Regions from separate parts of the Homo sapiens genome. Here region 1 is linked to region 2. The links are contacts of gene promoters, found by promoter capture Hi-C in blood cells and fetal thymus (Javierre and others, 2016). All regions are on one chromosome and are shown on one strand. The core of a region is centred on a gene start or on the middle of the fragment in contact, and the rest is flanking DNA. Distances in the headings are between cores, read along the strand shown. Region 1 holds the start of STARD6 (StAR related lipid transfer domain containing 6). Region 2 holds the start of HAUS1 (HAUS augmin like complex subunit 1).

Region 1 (3,498 bases), core at 244-2,743, 8.3 Mb before region 2:
GTATATCTCTGACGAATGGCTAAACTAAGCCAGCTTTACCTTTTTCGTATCCCTTTTATTTAAAGAAGTTTAAACTCACTCAAGTAAATTTGTTTGGATAAGCCTGACCAAATGTTTTCTGTCTTTGAATGCCGAACAGGCTACTGATTTTATTTTACAAAACCTTGAAAGAGAAAGCTGTTGTATTGGTCTCCGTAAGTGGGTGATAACATTTACTAGTTATTTCAACTCACAGGACAGACAAAAAGAAAATGCACAATTTAAGTTTCATTATGAAAAGTTTTCCAACTTTTCCCCAAAAGAGTATACAAAAGTAGAATCGTTCAATAAACCCCTATGTACTCATCATCCTGCTTCCAACAATCGCTGAACAGACCCCAATTGTAGCTAAAGTGGGTAGGGACCCACCCACTTCTCCCCACTTCAGCCACAGGATTATTTTGAACCCCACATATCTCATGCAAATCCCATATATCTTACCATTTCCTCCGTACAGGCTTCAGTTCGAATCTCCAAAAGAAAATCCATCACGCGGAAGAACAGAATGTTAAACTTATTGACAACAAATTTTAACTAACTTTGATTCAAAAACAGAATGTTCAGTGTTAAATAGCCAATGGGAATATCGCACAGGAAATTAAGAACAACTCTTGGAAATAGCTCTGTGACTGCTAAGTTAGGAAAGGGAACGTTTGTTTACTCGGCAGCAGAAAACCAGGAACCCACCGACCGGCCAGCGAAGGTCGCCCGTCTCCAGCAGTGCGCATCGTTCCCCTACCCCGGGCGCCCTGAATTCCAATTTTTCCAGTCCCAATCAGGCGACACCCTCCCTTTGGTGTTCCACCGCCCGTCAGTCACAGACACAGACAAGTTCTTCAGTGAGATGCTTTTCACTCCGAAACCATTTATTCAGCAGCCAGGGCGAGCGCAGCAATGGACTGAAGGAGAAGTGTTCCGAAGCGACAGCCCCAGAGCGCAAGCCCCTTCCTGTCGCCGCCTCAGGTCCGCAGACGCCCGTGTGAGCCCCCTCCGCCGCGTCCCGCGACCCTCCCTCGCCCAGGGGGCACTCCCCCTACAGTGTTCTTCCTTCCACAGAGACTCCACAAGCGCCCTCCCTCAGGAGACGTCTCCTCCTCTTTCCTCGCCACTCTCCTTTCGCCTTTTCTCGGCTGTCACAGGATGGGACAACCCTCGAAAAGACACCCTCCTTTCCGTCCTAACTCACCCCTAAGGCCCCAAAATAAAAATAAAGGAAAACAAAAACAAAAACCGCACACTTCCACAGCTCTCCGCCGAAAGCTCAGGCCTGTTACCCAACGCGAGACACCACAAAGCATCCCCAACCCGGACACCGCCCCGCCTCAGGCTCGGCTCACTCGCAGCTTCCTCCGCAGTCACAGCAGAGCTCGACACCCGCGCTCGCTTTCAAACCGCCCCAACATGGCGCCGGCCTGCGGTGCGCATGCGCGGCAGTGGGGCGCCGGGCGCGAGCGGAGATGAGGGAGCGGCCGGAGAAGAGAGGATGCTGTTGAGCGTTAGGTCGCGACCCCTGCTGGAAGGTGCTGTTTCTCCCTCCTTTCTGGGGCTGGGAATGGGGGGATGTGGGCTGCATCCAAGTCGCTGCCCCCCACGCCCTTCCAACCTCCGTCACAGCTATTCTCGGCCAGTTTGCGCGGGGACTTGCTGATCTCCCTTCAGCCGGCCCCGGGGTCTGCGGGAGGGGACTGGGTGGGGAGGGAGACTTAAGGGCGCTGGCGGCTGTCGTTCCGGTCGCTGAGAGTCTGCCCCACAGCTCCAGTTTTTCCAAGTGAGTTCAGCCTCCCCGCTTCCAGAGCATCCCCCGCCAAAAATAAGATATCGTCTCAGCTAGTAGGCAGTCCCCCCTCACCACTTCTTTCACTCCCTCTTCAGTGCCTTTCCTCTCACACCCCGGAGCCTCTCACACACAAAGCAGATGGGAGATTGGAGACCCGAGTTTAGCCAGGGATGGGATTTAACAAACTCCTAGGAAGCCTTGATTCCCAGGGAAGAATGGCAGTGACCCCGCACGGATTGGGGACCCAGTCAGGCAGCTCAGAAAGAGGGTCATTGTACAAACAGATGTAAAGACTCACTAACATGTGTGAACCTGTCTGTAAGTCTGGAAGGAATCCAGTTTCAACCAATTGGTGTATCAAAAAAAGAGGCCATCCCAATGTTGGTTTATGTTTATTTTCCACTGACCCTATGAGTGAAGATATCCTTGACCATGAGTCCATCTGAATATGTTCCAGCTCATCCGACGTTCCACCACCATGTAATACAATTGTAGTCTTACTGTTTGCACTTTCTTCTTTTTACCCTTTGTAGCCTACTAAATTTTACCTTCCCTTTTCTCTTAGCAAATGAAAAAGTCCGGAAGCTATAACGTTCAGTTTAGTGGTTAAACACAGGTCTATTGTGGCAGTAATAGTTGGTGATTTGAAAATAAGACATACCCTGCTAGTGGTATGTCCCAATAATCTTCAAAGTCTCTAGATCAATTAATATCAAGTAGGTTTCCAATAGGAAATCAAGAACGGTGTTTTATATGCTAAGACGAGCCCTGGTCGGGGATTAACAATCCTTGTTAATTGTTAGTGACGTAAGCTTAAAAACTTAAATTTTTGTATCCACGTTCCACCTAAGTGTCTTTTTAAACTGAGTTCCTTTAAAATAGTTTCTTAAAGATTCTTTTTATAAACAGTATCTTTTAAAGTTTTTTGTACTATATTTTTCTTTCATCTTGGGGCATATATGTAGCAAATGTTTCCTAATGAAGACAAAGTATAGATAAAGGACACTGAGAAGATATAAAGAAAATTATCAAATATATTGACCTAATTCATGGATCAAAATAATTCTACTTCTGCCTTGTTTCCTCACAGGTTAAGAGATATGGAGATTTCCACAAGGATTTGGAGAGGAGCCCCAGTAGTTACTAAAATTCTGCATTAGATCTGTCAGGAAAGGTAAAGAAACCAGGACTCTGCTAGGAAAGAGGAGGTTATAATAATGGTTTACTAAAACTTTTCAAATATAGAGACTATCAACTACCTGTTGTGCCTTGCTGGAGAATTAAATAAGAGAAAATAGATTTATGATCCAACCTGAAGAGTTTTAAGTGAGAGCTAAGGAAGAAATGTTCCAATAATTAAACTTTAAGAAGGTTTATTTAAGTGCTTAAGGAAGCAGATCTTTGGAGAGTTTTTTAAATGATGGATTTATATGTGTCCATTTTTTTAAAGAGAAACTAACTATTTTGATAACCTAGTATAGGGCTCCACACTGTTTAAAGCATTTTTACATATATTAACTCAACTAATCCTTATAATGATTCGGTGAGATAGATATTATTATCCCCATTCTATAGATATGGAAGTTGAAGTTCAAAGGTTAAGCAATTTATCCAAAATAATATAGCTGTACTAAGTGACAAAGTCAGGATTTGAATCCAGTTCTGTTTTCACCTTACCTGCC
Region 2 (3,594 bases), core at 214-2,713:
CCACTTTGGGAGGCTGAGGCAGGCGGATCACCTGAAGTCAGGAGTTCGAGACCAGCCTGGCCAATATTGTGAAACCCTGTCTTTACTAAAACACAAAAATTAGCCGGGTGTGGTGGTGCAGGCCTGTAGTCCCAGCTACTTGGGAGGCTGAGGCATGAGAATCACTTGAACCCAGGAGATGGAGGTTGCAGTGAGCTGAGATCACACCACTGCACTCCAGCCTGGGCGACAGAGCAAGATTGTCTAAAATATATACACACACACACACACACACACACACACACACACACACACACATACATATACATATATATAAACATAAAACAATAAAGTTACTACTATAACAGAGTGGAAGAAAATCTGGGAAAAATAAAGGAGCAAAACAAGTAGTCTACAGTAAATTAATCCTGTATACTTTAGTGTTATAAAATTTGGTTACCTCTATTTATTCTCGTTCAAAACTCTGGACTTAATCTCACCTTCTGACTCGTATTCACTTGCTTTCTGCTTCAAGTCCTCTATTACCAGGTAGACATCCCTGTCCCGGACCCTGTTGCGTTCTGAAAGGTGATGTAAAATCTCTGTGGTCCGTGGGTTCACCTCATACTGTGGAATAGGATGATCTCCAAATATTTTTTTTAACCACGCAGCAACCTAACCATTAAAAGAAAGACAAATATTATAAGCCTTGTTTACTGTAATGGCTCGATGAGAATATGACAAAGAAGTGATCAAAAGCAAACTAAATGCTTTCTGTGACTATTTTGGAGTCCTACTTCACAACCTCACTTGTCTTTAGGGAGATACTAGATATCAGGAAATAAAAAGTGAGCAAGTACACAAAGAAACGTACAATACTGAAAATTACCAGAGAACAATCCGTTCTTTTCCAAATCTGCAAAAGCGGTACAGGCTAACAATTTGCCTCGCTTGAAAAACCTTAAAGCTTAATAGACCATAATAATGCGAACGCATTATTAGACCGTGCATGGTCTGAAAAAAGCAATTGTCCCTCGATCACCAGAAGCCCCGCCGCGCCGGGAGGCTCCCAGTGTTGGGATGCAGGGCGCGGAAGCAGTTCAGATGTGGAAGCCGCCGGGCTGAGCAGCGAACCGGAAGGCGGGTTTGGCTTCATAAGTCCCACTCCAGAGTCTGTGGACACGGGCTGCTCAACGCCTCTCCCGGGCCAGATCCAAACAAGGGGAGGCCCGGGCAGGAAGGGAAAGGCCTTCAGGAGAGTCTAAGCACGGGGGGCTTGCAGATAGTGACGGCGGCACTAAAAGACGGATGTGTGGAATAGGGGAGAGAAAAGTAGACGTGGCGCGCACAGGAGACCCGCTGTCGGCGCGGGGGTGTCAAAAACGCGTTTTCCAGGAGGCCAACGATCCCCATTCCCGCCCCATCACCTGCGTTTCTCTCTCCTCCTGCGGCTCCATAGCTGCGGCTCCCGCCACTTTACTAGGAACTCCTAGCGGGAGATGCGCCCCGCTCACTCCCTAGGCCCCGCCCACACGCCGTTGGCACCCGCCCCTCGCCGGGCCCGGGATTTCTGGGAGTTGTGGTTTTACCTGAGACTCCTGGCCGTTGAGCCCCTGTGCAAGGCTGGTCGAAGGCTCTGGCATTGCAAGCCTCGCTTCGTTGCCACTTCCCAGCTCTTCCCGCCTTCCGCGGTATAATCAACACTACGAGAGATAGAGCCGCCTAGAACCAGGTTGTTTTTTCTTTCTTTTATTTTTATTTCTTGTTTGAATCACTTGTCGTTAAAAAAAAGTACTTGAAACGTTTGGTTCTTGCTTAGCAAGATGTTTGTGTTTCTTCCACATTGATTGCATCCACTCAGAATTTATATTCTACCCTGGCAATATGAGCTGAGGCAATCTTAACTTGATCCGTTAGTTCCCCCAACCTAAAAACTAGGGACATTTTTTTTTTTTGAGACAGAGTCTCGCTTTGTCGCCCAGGCTGGAGTGCAGTGGCATGATCTCGGCTCACTGCAACCTCTGCCTCCTGGGTTCAAGCGATTCTTCTGTCTCAGCCTCCCAAGTAGCTGGGACTACGGGCAAGCGCCACCACGCCTGGCTAATTTTTGTGTTTTTAGTAGAGACGGGGTTTCACCATATTGGCCAGGCTGGTCTCGAACTCCTAACCTCATGATCCGCCCACCTCGGCCTCCCAAAGTGCTGGGATTACAGGCGTGAGCCAGCGCGCCCAGCTTTTTTTTTTTTTTTTTTTTTTTTGAGATGGAGTCTCTGTTGTTCAGGCTGGAGGGCAGTGGCACGATCTCGGCTCTCGGCTCTCAGCTCACTGCCACCTCTGCTTCCCGGGTTCAAGCGATTCTCCTGCCTCAGCCTTCCGAGTAGCTGGGATTACAGGTGTGCATCACCACGCCCAGCTAATTTTTTGTATCTTAGTAAAGATGGGATCTCATCAGGTTGGCCAGCTTGGTCTCGAACTCCTGACTTCAGGTGATCCGCCCGCCTTGGCCTCCCAAAGTGCTGGGATTACAGGCACTGCGCCCGACCTTTTCTTTTCTTTTTGAGATGGAGTGTTTCTCTGTCGCTTAGGCTGGAGTGCAGAGTGACATGATCTTGGCTCACTGCGACCTCCAACCCCCGTCCCCAGGCTCAAGCAATTCTCCTGTCTCATCCTCTCTAGTAGCTGGGATTACAGGCTTGTGCTAGCATGCAGGGATAATTTTTTTATTTTTAGTAGAACGGGGGGTTTCACCACGTTGATCAGGCTGGTCTCAAACTCCTGACCTCAAGTGATCTGCCTGCCTCGGCCTCTCAAAGAGCTAGGATTACAGGTGTGAGCCAACACACCCAGCCTAAAATGATTTTCTTTTCAAAGGAAACTTACTAGCAAGCCAAGCTTATTTATTATTTATTTTATTTTATTTTTAGAGACAGGGTCTTGCTCTTTCGTCCAAGCTGGAGTATAGTGGTGATCACAGTTCACTGCAACCTTGAACTCCTGGGCTCAAGCAATCCTCCCGCTTCAGCCTCCTTAGTAGCTGGGACTATAGGCGTGCACCACCACACCCAGCTAACTTTTTGTATTTTTTGTAGAAAGAGGGTCTCACTATGTTGCCCAGGCTGTTTTTGAACTCCTGGCCCCAAGTGATGCTCCCACTTGGGCCTCTCAAAGTGCTGGGATTACAAGCATGAGGCACCACACCCAGCCTGTCTTGCTTATTCTTTTTGCTTCAAACATATCTCTGCTCTGGCTGGATGCGGTGCCTCACACCTATATTCTCAGCACTTTGGGAGGCCGAGGCAGGTGGATCACCTGAGGTCCGGAGTTCAAGACCAGCCTGACCAACATGGCAAAACCCCATCTCTACTAAAAATACAAAAATTAGCCAGGCATGGTGGCACGTGCCTGTAATCCCAGCCACTTGGGAGGCTGAGGCAAGAGAATCACTTGAACCCTGGAGGCAGAGTTTGCAGTGAGCTGAGATTGAGACACTGCACTCCAGCCTGGGCGACAGAGTGAGAATCCACCACAAAAAACAAAAAAAAACAAAAACTAAATATATCTCTGCTCTGTAACCAAATTTCAGATAAACTGGTGCAGCCCTTCAGTATGGGGCAA

What was found. The method cuts DNA at HindIII sites, captures the fragments that hold promoters and counts their contacts. A CHiCAGO score of 5 or more calls a contact.
Region 1: a contact is called between the fragment with the promoter of STARD6 here and the fragment with the promoter of HAUS1 in region 2, in 1 of 17 cell types (total B cells). The highest score is 5.7, in total B cells.

What each region holds. Positions count from the first base shown.
Region 1 is chr18:54,355,853-54,359,350 of GRCh38, reverse strand. It overlaps STARD6 (StAR related lipid transfer domain containing 6), which reads left to right and starts at 1,493. Exons shown (of 8, transcript NM_139171.2): 1 at 1,493-1,559; 2 at 2,907-2,990. C18orf54 (chromosome 18 open reading frame 54) reads right to left here and starts at 1,445. Exons shown (of 9, transcript NM_001288980.2): 1 at 1,276-1,445; 2 at 481-577. RefSeq lists enhancers at 859-928, 430-941. The HindIII fragment of the contact is 3,120 bases long and covers 1-2,630 here.
Region 2 is chr18:46,102,254-46,105,847 of GRCh38, reverse strand. It overlaps HAUS1 (HAUS augmin like complex subunit 1), which reads right to left and starts at 1,463. Exons shown (of 9, transcript NM_138443.4): 1 at 1,407-1,463; 2 at 480-654. The coding sequence starts at 1,436. It also overlaps a transcript of ATP5F1A not described here. RefSeq lists an enhancer at 1,059-1,148 and a silencer at 1,539-1,638. The HindIII fragment of the contact is 1,925 bases long and covers 949-2,873 here.